Regions from separate parts of the Homo sapiens genome. Here region 2 is linked to region 1. The links are contacts of gene promoters, found by promoter capture Hi-C in human tissues and cell types (Jung and others, 2019). All regions are on one chromosome and are shown on one strand. The core of a region is centred on a gene start or on the middle of the fragment in contact, and the rest is flanking DNA. Distances in the headings are between cores, read along the strand shown.

Region 1 (5,701 bases), core at 1,860-4,359:
ACAAAAAATAAAAATACATTAGCTGGGTGTGGTGGCATATGCCTGTAGTCCCAGCTAATCAGAAGGCTGAGGCAGGAGGATTGCTTGAGCCCAGGAATTTGAGGCTGCAGTGAACTATGATTGCACCACTGCAGTCCACACTGGGTTACAGAGCAGAAGAAAATAAGTGAAGTCTAACATCGAGATTGTAGGCCGGGCGTGGTGGCTCACATCTGTAATCCCAGCACTTTGGGAGGCCAAGGTTGGTGGATCACTTGAGGGCAGGAGTTCGAGACAAGCCTGTCCAACATGGTGAAACCCCATAAAAATACAAAAATACAAAAAATTAGCTGGGTGTAGTGGCACACACCTGTAATTTCAGCTACTCCGGAGGCTGAGGCAGGAGAATCACTTGAATCTGGGAGGTGGAGGTTGCAGTGAGCCGAGATCACACCACTGCACTCCAGCCTGGGCAACAGAGCAAGTCTCAGTCTCAATTAAATAAATAAATAAATAAGTAAATAAATAAATAAATAAATAATAAAAATAAAATGAAGATTGTAAATAAACTTGATCAGGTCCAAAGAAAATAGAGTCTTCCTTCATCTTCGCTTATACTTAGATAGCAGGCCGTCTCTATGTGAGTTACTCATTGCCTGAGGCTGGATTCACCAAGAACTAGATGCCAAGTCAAGGATTCATGTACAAGTGGTTTATTCGGGAGGTGATCCCTGCAAATGCTGCAAGTGGGGAATGGAAAAAGGGAAGGGAAGGTAGCCCAAAAAGGCTGTGTTAGCATGTTTATTGCATGGGCAACCGGAGCTTCACTCTGCTTGGGAGGCCCCTGGATGCCAGAGTAGAACATATTCCTCAGGGTTATGCTGCCTGCAGGGCGAGGGAGCTGGGGAATTTATACACCAAGATCTGTCCATCATTGGTTAAGGACAGCTCCCAAAGGCTATACTTCCCTAATAGTTCCAACCTGCTGAGTGCATAGGCTGAGTGGGCTTCCGAGCATGCTGGTCCCATCTCCTAATGATGAGAGGTGGAGGCACAGGAGAAGGTAAACAAATGGCAAAGACACTTAAATACATGAGAAAATGAGTCCAACCTGAACTTTGACTTTTCTGGGTGGCCCACTCATCCCACTAACTACCATAACTTCATTTCGTCTGCTTTTTGCAAAGAACAGACAATTCCAAACAGCCAAGCCTAACAAGTAGCTCATCTTAGCTTGTGGATTCAGAGCACTGGTGGCCTCTCCACCTCCAATTGACACCAGAAAACATATAAATACCTCTAAACATGCCTTGGGTATTTGTTTTTCTAATTGCAAATATTATACCATAACTTAGTTTGAAGGCTTTGTAAAGAATATGCCAGAAACATCTAATATTAGCCCTAAAAACTAGGGCAATCTTTTTTTTAACAGAAGAGTGTTCATATAAACATCAAAAGATGTGATGAGAGTAGTTTCAACTTCTAATCATAGAAATTATAGGGCTATTTCATGAAAGAGGTGCTTTATCAGCTCATCTTGAGTGAATGTTAAAGATGAAGATATGGCTAGTATCTCCAGAGTCTACTGTCTCAGAGAGGTAGCCCAAAGTTGTAAGACTGAGTGCCTTGAGGTAGGGAACAGGAAGCAACAGGGTCTCCAGGTTCACTGAGGAGTACTGACCTGCAATGCGATTCCTACATCAGCAAAGGTCTTCCTTCCATCGTTAGAGGACTCCTGGATTTGCTATGCCTATCCTGATGGCTTCCTACATGAGACCATCCATTCACACTTGGCCCTTACCCAGGCCTGAAATTCTCCCCAGTTGCACTCCACCCACTTATGTCTATCACTTAGCTCAAAGCCAGTAAAGCTCATCTCTGAACTAGCAAAGATTCCCTTTATCCCATCAAAATGTCCTTAACATCTATCTTGAGGTCATGCAGCATGATCTTACTTTGCTGGCATTCTTTCCTTCTTCTGTGGATTCCCAAGCAGAGTACAGATGTACAGATTCCTTGGGGGATAAGAGCTGGAATTTCAGCTTCTTTTTTTTTTTTTTTTTTTTGAGACGGAGTCTCGTCTGTTGCCAGGCTGGAGTGCGGTGGTGCAATCTCTGCTCACTGCAACCTCCGACTCCCTGGTTCAAGCTATTCTCCTGCCTCAGCCTCCCAGGCAGCTGAATTACAGGCACACACCACCACGCCCAGCTAATTTTTGTATTTTTAGTAGAGACAGGGTTTCACCATGTTGGCCAGGACGGTCTCGATCTCCTGACCTCATGATTTACCTGCCTTGGCCTCCCAAAGTGCTGGGATTACAGGCATGAGCCACCGCACCCGGCCTCACCTTCTTTTATATCCCACACAGCACCCAGCACAGAGCACAAAGCTAAGCGCATCGATCCAGCGACTGACTGACTGAATAAATGAATACATGCTATCTTGCTTGTAGAAGCCCAGATTCCTCCTTCTTACGACTCCCACACCCACTTAGGAGATTCTATTATGTCTTAAAAGAAGTTACATCTCCATTAGTGTCAAAGCAACATTATATAAGTGGCTCAACATGATCAGGCATGAATTTCTTTGTTTTCCCACTCACCTGAAAGCCCAAAAACAATCCAGGTGGTGGTAAACACTTCTGATCCTTCAAAGAAAACGGAAGAAAGCGATCCCTACCGTCTATTTTGAATCTACCGTTTTTTGTTTTTGAGTGTCTTTTAAATCTATTCAAAATCCTTTAAGGGCATTTCACCATGCATGGGAGAAGGTCATGGATCCTCAACAAATTGCAAGAGGCCTTTCACAGGCTAGACTCTGCCTTGTTCTCCAAGCTCACCTTCCATAATCCTGATGTGCTCCATATTGCCAGACTCTTTCAAGTCCTTCCCCGCCCTGCGGAGAATCCCTACTCACACCTCAGGACCAGCTCAGACATGGTCTCCAGGAGACCTTTTCTAAGATCCTATGTGAGGTAACTAGCCCCCTTGGCACCTTGTGACATAATTATTCACTTCCATGTACATGTCCCGTAGTGAACTATGAGCACCTCCAGACCTTACCCTGCGTTTGGTCGCCTTGCTCTCCTCTCTGCAGCTGGCACCCAATCTTTCCAGGCTGTCTCTAGGGACTCGAGCCCTTGGGATGGGGTCCTCAATGCTTTTCCACCTGCCTGGCTTCTAAATTCCACTAAGATCCTGTCCCATTCTCTTGGAAACACTAGAACTTACTCTGACATGCCCTATGGAAGTTATTTCTCCACTGCTGTTCAAACCCACTCCCAGACCTGGCCTTCCCTGAGGAGAGCGTCTCAGCCAAATCCAACTGCCTCTAGCTCAAGTTTCCTTGCGGGGGGCCCGCTGGCCTCATCCTGTTAGGTCGTCTTAGAGCCACAGGAGAATCAATGTTCCAGTGTCAGCAGGAAGAATCAATGTTCCAGTGTCAGCCAGCAGGGGGCAGTGTGAAAATACACACACCAGGCCCTTTTTTCAAAGGGTCTCGGCTTCCCTGAGGGTGTCTATCTGTGCCTCTATGAAGCATGGCTTGGGTCATTCCTCCAGTCCCATGGCCAGGTGGATCCTTCGTTTACCTTTCATTTCTATTAAATGAGAACATTCTCAATTCACTAACTGGATTGTTGGAAAGGCAGCAAGCTCTGCTAGATAGTTCTAAATATTTGCATCAAATATGGACCAGAAATTGTGAATCTGTCTTTCAACGCCCTCGGATCTGAGTCAGCAAGGCTGCCACGTGCAAAAGTAGGAACGTTAAATACTTGAAGCTGGGAGAGAATAAGTGGGTTTCTAATCCTCTCTGGTGCATTCAGTTCTAGAAAGTGGTTCTTTGTATTCTACTGGAACATTTCTATGTATGGTTTTTTTGTTGTTTGTTTGTTTGTTTTTTGAGACAGAGTCTCCCTCTGTTGCTCAGGCTGGAGCACAGTGGCACAATTTCAGCTCACCACAACCTCTGTCTCCCGGGTTCAAGGAATTCTCCTGCCTGAGCCTCCCGAGTAGCTGAGATTACAGGCACGTGCCACCACGCCCAGCTAATTTTTGTATTTTTGGTAGAGGCAGGGTTTCACTATGTTGGCCAGGCTGGTGTATGTATGTTTTAAACATGCTTTAAAACAAAATTTCTTTTTAGAGATGGGATCTTGCTATGTTGCCCAGGCTGGAGTGCAGTGGCTATTCACAGGTGTGATCATGGCGCACTGAAGCCTAGAACTACTAGGCTCAAGCAATCCTCCCACCCTAGCCTCCCACGTAATTGAGACTACAGGTATACACCACCATGCCCGGCCTTAAACATGCTTTTAAATGTGTCATAAATCACATTTCTCTGATGAATAAAAAGAATTATCTAATGTTGAGAAAGAGTCAGTGTTTAATCATTTACCTCACAGTGCAGATTTCTTAATAAATTCTGTTATTGAATCTACAGAATTTAACATTATGTTATTTTTGGCCCTGAAGGCATAACTTCAAGCCATTCTGGATACTGAATGTGTTGCTGACATACACATTAGCAAATCACTCAGAAGCATATACACTTTATTGCATTATCAGTAACATGAAGAAATATTTCTATATCATGAGAAAGAGCACTTTCTTCTTGATATGTGTGTAATCCCTTGGTCTTGGGAAGCTAAGGCACAGCTTACAGAGGGATTTTGTATACCCCACTCATTACGTAGCTTAAATCAGGCTGGGTAAACATGTAAACCAAATGCAAATCATCAATCTACATATGTTTAAGAAATAATATAGACATACTGCTGAAGCATGCCTCCCAGGGAGTTCTGGACTTTAAACAGCATCTTATAAATCACCAGCAAGAACAATCAATTAATATTTTGGCTGAGGGTCTTTACCAGACTCCCAAATACCACTGGAGTTAAGCACTGAACCAACACAGGCCAGCTGCAAATAAGATTCATTGCTATGGTTTGGATATTTGGCCTCCCCTCCAAAGACAATATCATGTTGAAATTTCATCCCCAATGTCAGAGGTAGGGCCCACTGGGAGGTTTGGGTCATGGGAGTATATCTCTCATGAATGGCTTGCTGCCATCCTCATGGGAGTGAGTTCTCACTCTTAGTTCCCTCAAGAGCTAGTTGTTGAAGAGTGTAGAACCTCCTCCTCCCTCCTCTTGCCTCCTCTCTCCCCATGTGATCTGCCCACAGTGGTTCACCTTTCCCTTCCACCATGAGTAGAAGCAGCCGGAGGCCCTCATCAGAAGCAGGTATTGGTCCTATGCTTTTTGTACAGTCTGCAGAACCATGAACCAAGTAAACCTATTTTCTTTATACATTACCAAGCCTTAAGTATTCTTTTATAACAACACAAGCAGGCTAAGATAACCCCATCTATGGTCAGTCACCAAGGCCTCTTCTCTCATATGAGTTTTGTACCTTACTCTATTTAATAAAGTTTGTTCTCATGGGGATATGCATTAACAATTCTGATACGTGCATACTGAAATCGAAAATTAATTAAACAAATGGCGGATGGTAGAAGCCAGGTTGCTCACTGTTGGAATGCAAGTTTACAGATAAGCCAGGGGAGGAGGCTAGAATGATCCACTTGGTAACAGAGCGGAGTTGGAGGCATCAGTATGAACTCATGTCTAGCTTAATACAGGGGCAGAAGATTCCATATAGAAATATGTATAGATATGTGATATTCACAGGTTAGTATACACATGAATATTTCCTTGCTC
Region 2 (6,402 bases), core at 3,289-5,788, 47 kb after region 1:
AACATCACATATGTCTTTGTCATTTAAAACAATCAACGTTTCCAGTGTAAAAATACGTGGGCTTATTGCATCTACCCCACGGATGGTTTATCTTTTTCTTTCCATCAGACTTGCCGCAAGGTTATGTGGCTGTTATTTTGTTAATTTCCAAGGCTCTTACATTCACTGATCCTTCTAGGCATACAGGGAGAATTTCTACCAACATATAAACAACCCAAATGGTGAACCTGGAGAACCCTCTTCCCTCTCTAAACACAGACAGACGTGTGGCTGCTCCCTGGCACTTGAGAGGAGAAATCTTTCCTTCAACCTAAATACCACTCAGATCAGTGGCTCCTCTGATTTTCCTGCTCACGAGCAGCACATGTGCCAAGCTCACGGCTCTTGTGCTGGTTGCCTGGAATTTAATTACATGTGAAAGTATCAGGTAGGCACATGGACACGTACCATGTGTGCACACACATGTACACACACACATTTTGGGTCCTCCTTATAACTAAAATCAAAAGTCCTTGTGAGCAGAAAAAAGGAGGGCAGGGGTCCAGGGATAGGGAGCTGTCTGCTGACTTCTACATCCAGCTCCAGGTAGCAAATGATGGCTTGGCCGGAGCTGGGGAGGTTTGTGTCTAAATGTTTCCATGGAAAGAAAGTGCCTAGCTTCCTGGGGGTCTTATGGGCAATGGCGGTTCCTGGGGTGCCCAGATCCCCTCGTTCTCATGGCTCAGATTGTTGCTGGGGTCTCGGCTATCTCCTCCAGCCTCTGTCGAATCATTAGCCGGAGCACGGTGTACCTGGAGACAAGAAACAGGCTCAGATGGAGAGCAGCCAGCAACACACCCCTGCCCAGGACCTTCCCGGCCACCTGGGTAACACCAAGGTCACACCAGGTAACAGTGCAGTCAAGTGCCCTGCTCCTTTGCTTCCATTACTGACCCCTCTTTAGCTACTTTGTTGCTTATGTTCATTCCTACAACACGATGAGAGGAAATAAAGAGGCCAAATCCAAATTAGATTATTTTACTATGGGTAGAACATCTAGCCAAAAAAAAAAAAAAAAAAAAAAAGGTAAAAAAAAACAACAGCAATAATAAGCATTCTACGAATTCAGTGCGTTTGCTTACTATGTCCAAGACACTATGCATAGTACTTCATATGCACAGCAGCTCATGAACCCTCACCTAGGCTAGATGATATAAAATTGCTAACAGTTGACCCTCTTGGGGATCCTACAAAAATGGCAACTTCGTATGGTTCAACCTTATAACAGAACCTGCATTTTGCAGAAGAGGCCATAGCAGCTACTAGGCGTGGAGGTCCGTGGCTTGGGGGGAGTTCTGTTTTCCCACGACTTCCCTGAGCCGTGGCACTGCAGCTGCAGGAGTGGGCACTGTTGTGCAGGGATCAATGGACATATTCCTTATGTTCAGGGATTTGTGCTGCACAGAAAAAGCTATTTTTAAAGTTTAGGACATAGTTGGCTGGGCATGGTGGCTCACGCCTGCAATCCCAGCACTCTGAGAGGCCGAGGAGGGTGGATCACTTGAGGTCAGGAGTTCAAGACCAGCCTGGCCAACATGGCAAAACCCCGTCTCTACTAAAAATACAAAAAAAAAAAAAAAAAAAGAAAGAAAGAAAAAAATAGCTAGATATGGTGGCGCATGCCTGTAATCCCAGCTACTGGGGAGGCTGAGACGGGAGAATCACTTGAGTCTGGGAGGTAGAAGTTGCAGTGAGCCGAGATCGCATCTCTGCACTCCAGCCTGAGCAACAGAGCAAGACTCTGTGTCAAAACAAAACAAAACAACAACAACAACAACAAAAACTTTAGGACATAGTAAGTGTTCAGTGTGTTATCAGACTAGTTATGATCATCGATACAGCAAATCCAGCAGCGGCTTTATTCTCCAGTGGCAAAAATGAATCATTAATTCCACCATATCTATGAAAGGCAGTCTCTTCTATGACTAAACATAGCAAAGAAATCACAAAATCCTTCCCAGAAAGCCGCTTTATTTTTCAATCCAAATGCAATTTCCAGAAGATAAATGTTACAAAGGGAGGAAGGGGGAGAGGAGAGGATTTTGGAGGCCAGTAGCTCAGGCTACATCCACGGCTAAGACAGCCTTCCTGAAATCCCTGGAACCTCCGGGTCTTGGTTAGCACTCCTTGCCTTCACCCCTTCAGGCAAGGGGTGGTAACACTAGCCCCAGGGACTGCACTATCCCTTGAGGTTACCCCAGACTCTGCCCAAGTCTTCGCAAATAGTCCCTTCTTCAAACACCCGTCAAAGACCCTCATCGGAGTGAGCATCTGTCTCCTGCTGGGAGCCTGATCGTATACTTAAGAAACCAGCGTACAGTCACCTTCCCTATTTCTGCATCTAGACCCCAAAGAAATTTTAAACCAACACCTTCTTTTCAGAGTCTTTCCATAAGAGGGAGGACAAGAGACACTTTGATGTCCCACATCAAAACGAGAAGCTGACACAAGAAGTAGATGAACACACTTAACTGTCACGTCCTCACTTGAAATCCAGGTTTGTCAATGGGCAGCCCTCCAAAGAAAGCCGAGACTCAGGCCCATGCAGCAGCTCAGCACAGTCCCTGCGAGGACCCAGCAGAGGCCCCTCTGTTGAGGCCCCAGGAGAAGTGCACCCAGTGCCCCAGAAGCCACACTTACTTGCGCATCAGCTTCTTTACTTCCCGATCTTCTTCCTCCTGGAGCTTCTGAATGAAGCTTTTAAGTACCGGCATCTCGAACTTTATATACTGGGCCACCTAGAGAGAAAGAAGCAAGTCTGGGTGAATGCCCTTCCCAGCATTATTCCAATTCCTTTCAGGGTTGTCCTTATACAAGGCACAAAGCCTTGGGAAGTCTATTTTTTTCAGAAACCCAGGATTTCCTTAAAGGCAGCAGCCAAGCCTCATTCCTCACCAGGGTGGGAAGGAGTCTGCGATGATCGCTTCGCTTACGTGACACCATCTCATAACTTCTCATTTTTCATGTCATGCATTCAATTCATGATGAGGTGAAGCCAAACACAGAAAAGTACTTTCTTTTGACACAGTGATGCAGAGAAAGAACTGAACCCATTATGTTTAATAAACCCCTTTGTTCTCCCCTAAGAGAATGGAAGGAATCAGGGTTCCAGATGACGATTTGGGTCTCAAGGCTCAAACAAGCATCCAAATATGAACTCGCTTTGGAGAGGCTGTGGGTGGCTATGGGGTGAGTTAAAGTTTAAAAACGGTGCCAGGCATCGTGGTTCATGCCTGTAATCCCGGCACTTTGGGAGGCTGAGGCGGGCGGATCACTTGAGGTCAAGAGTTCAAGACCAGCTGGCCAACATGGTGAAACCCCGTCTCTACTAAAAATACAAAAATTAGCCAGGCATGGTGGTGCACACCTGTGGTCCCAGCTACGCAGGGGTCTGAGGCAGGAAAATAGCTTGAACCAGGGAGGTGCCACTGCACTCCAGCCTGGGCAACAGAGCGAGACTCCATCCCAAAAAAAAAAAAAAAGTTAAAAAATGGCTTCCCTTTCCCCACAAGAATCCCCACCCTGCTCTATCAACTCTTCTCCCTGGGATAAGTACATTTCTCTACCCTATTAATGCTGAGCTTGTCCATGTGACTGGCTTTGGCCAGTGGAATGTGTGTGGACATGACACACCAAATCTGAGTGGAGGCTTCAAATATGCTTACATGATTTGGCCTGGTTTCTCATGCTCCGCCATCTGCCATGAGGACCACACCCATGTGCAGTAACTACTGCCCCAAAAGCCTGGGCCTCTGGGTGAGTCACACAGTGCAGACTTGAACTCAACCCATACTTAGAGTAGAGCCATTGCTACTAGACCACAGAATCATGGGCAAAAAAGCAAATGTTTGCTGTTGTCAGCTACTATGATTTGGAGATGTTTGTTACTCTGCAAAAGCTGGCTTCGAGAGAACCTGGTGCTGAAGAAGTAAAAGGGGGCATGGTCGTTGGTCAAAAAAGTCATTCTATACCCCAGTTACAGGTGGTCCAACCAAATCCCCACCCTCCTGAGGACAGATCGCCTGACCCAAAGGGAACTCACGTCGTAGGTGACTTCCTCCACCTGGTCCTTCTCCATTAGGAACACTTTGGAGATCTGCTCACATGGGCCCTGGAGGATTCGGGCAATCAGCGGGTAATCGGTGGCCTTCAGCTTCTGTTTCTCTGCAACCACACACACCCAGGAGCAGCCCTGAGAGGCCTTTCTCACATTAAGTAGTGGTTAATGCAGGGGTCCAAAGGCACCTTAGGAGATGCCGCCATATACGTCAGGAGACTGATTTATAAGTGAACTATTCCATAGGTGTTGTGAAAAGCAACTTCCTCCCACTCCTCACCCCTCAACAATACCACCATGCCTCAAACTCCTTGGAGGAATTGGGTTTATCTGTCTCTTAAGAAAATCTAGTTCCTCTTTTAATAGGCAGTTAGGTTTAGAATTTGTTTACTGGCCATATAAGGCAATCCCTAGTAGACTCATACAGCAAGCCCATCAGCCTTGAAGGCAAACAACATTTGGAAGTTTCCAAAACTCAAACAACAAGCAAAGGAGGCAGAGGTATTTTTTTAACTTGCTATTTTGAGTTAATTAGAAGTTTTAAAGTACACTGTGGTCTTCAGACTTACCACCACTCGTATGGACCACGTACAAGGCAAACTCCTCTGCTGAATTCTCAATCTGAAGCAGGAGCAAAAGATTCTTGTTGAAAGTTTCTATTTAAACATCCCAACTTCGAGGCTTTTCCTCTTCTTTAGCAATGCAAAGCTAAGTCAATTTTAGGCTGTTTTGAGGGGAGAGCTATTTATCTACAACTCTCAGAAGTGATGAGAAGATCGAGAAGGCAGATGACTTTATCAATAATACAGTCATGCACTTAACCACGAGGATGCATTCTGAGAAATGTGTCACTAGGCAATTTCATTGTTGTGCAAACATCATAGAGTGTGCTTACAGAAACCTGGATGGCATAGCCTACTTCACACCTAGGCCATATGGTATATAGCCTATTGCTCCTAGTGTACAAACCTATACAGCATGTTACTGTACTCAATGCCGTAAGCACTTGTAACACAATGGTAAGCATTTGTGTATCTAAACATATCTAAACACAGAAAAGGTACCATAAAAAATGGATTATAATCTTACGGGACCACTGTCGTATATGTGGTGCATCATTGACCAAATTGGTCATTCTGTAGCACACGACTAGGATAGATAACAGCTATCGTCTATTGCAATGTGCCAGGCATAGTTCTACAAATGTTAAAGGCTTCAACCCATCTAATGCTCACGACGATACCATAGTGAAGTCCCATTATCCTCATTTTATGATGACGAAGCAGAGGCAGGGGCAGGTTAAGTAACCTGCCCAATTCATCCAACTAGCAGGTGCTCAGTGGAGATTTGAACCCAGAGCCTGTGTTCTTAGGTTGTTAGGCTACACTGGCTTCCATTAAAAATAAGAACACCTGGTCTCCAAAAGATCTCTGGTCTCCAAGAGATTGTGGAAAACACAGAGCAACAGAACTTTAAAAGCACTCCTGCACTATAATTTGCACGTCTATTTAAGTATCATATTTCAAAGTAGGTTTCCCAACTGTGTCCCAGAAGTCAATCTTCGCACTGAGCCCAAAACCAGTCAGCAGGCCCCAGGGTCCTTCTAAAGTAGCCCATAAAGGATTTGAGGGCTGATGTTTCTCAAACTTCGGTAGGCATCCAAATCCCCTGCAGGCTTGTTAGACGGCGTCCCTGGCCTACCCCTCACAATTTCTGATTTAGTGGGTCTGGGGTGGGGCCTGAGAATCTGAATTTCTAACAAGCACCCAGGTGATGCTGATGCTGATTCTGTGGACTTTGTCCTGGATCGTGAGGATCTAAAGAACCGAAGCCCTCTGCTCAGCATCCCACAAAACACACAATTTCCATAGCTCCTCGCACAACCACTCTAGGAGTCCCAAGGCACAGCTGTGACCCCATCTGTGGCCACTCAGCAAAGGGAACTTGCCTTAAATTTGTTGAGCAGCAGCTTCAGGACCTGTGGGGTGGTCATGGTGCTGTTGATGCGGACGTTGGTGACAGAGCCATAGGCTGGTGTGAACACGGATGTCTGTCAATAGAAGGGCCCAGCTCAGGGTGGGAGTGGGAACAAGGACCCAGTGCTAAAATCCAGGTGCGGTACAGGGCACAGTGACAACGATACTCAGAATGTACTCCCTGGGAGCCCCCGGCAGACTGGCAAGCAGCAGGCTTTGTAGACAAAGCAACCCTCGGGGTTTGCATAATTCAGTTCATGCTCCACGCTCAAAAAGACCCTTCCTCTGGGACTTCAGCACAAGGCTGTCTCTGACCACTCTCCCACCATG

The links. The method cuts DNA at HindIII sites, captures the fragments that hold promoters and counts their contacts. A contact is called where the count stands out against the background at its distance.
Region 2: a contact is called between a fragment that was not itself captured here and the fragment with the promoter of PRNT in region 1, in 1 of the 25 tissues and cell types used here (IMR-90 fibroblasts).

What each region holds. Positions count from the first base shown.
Region 1 is chr20:4,737,559-4,743,259 of GRCh38, forward strand. PRNT (prion locus lncRNA, testis expressed) reads right to left here and starts at 3,110. Exons shown (of 2, transcript NR_024269.1): 1 at 3,042-3,110. The HindIII fragment of the contact is 12,758 bases long and covers 1-5,701 here.
Region 2 is chr20:4,783,552-4,789,953 of GRCh38, forward strand. It overlaps RASSF2 (Ras association domain family member 2), which reads right to left. Exons shown (of 12, transcript NM_014737.3): 8 at 6,045-6,146; 9 at 4,666-4,717; 10 at 4,082-4,203; 11 at 2,680-2,777; 12 at 1-791. The coding sequence ends at 722. Among named protein-coding and RNA genes, the nearest start is that of RASSF2, 37 kb to the right of the region's middle. The HindIII fragment of the contact is 6,947 bases long and covers 1,066-6,402 here.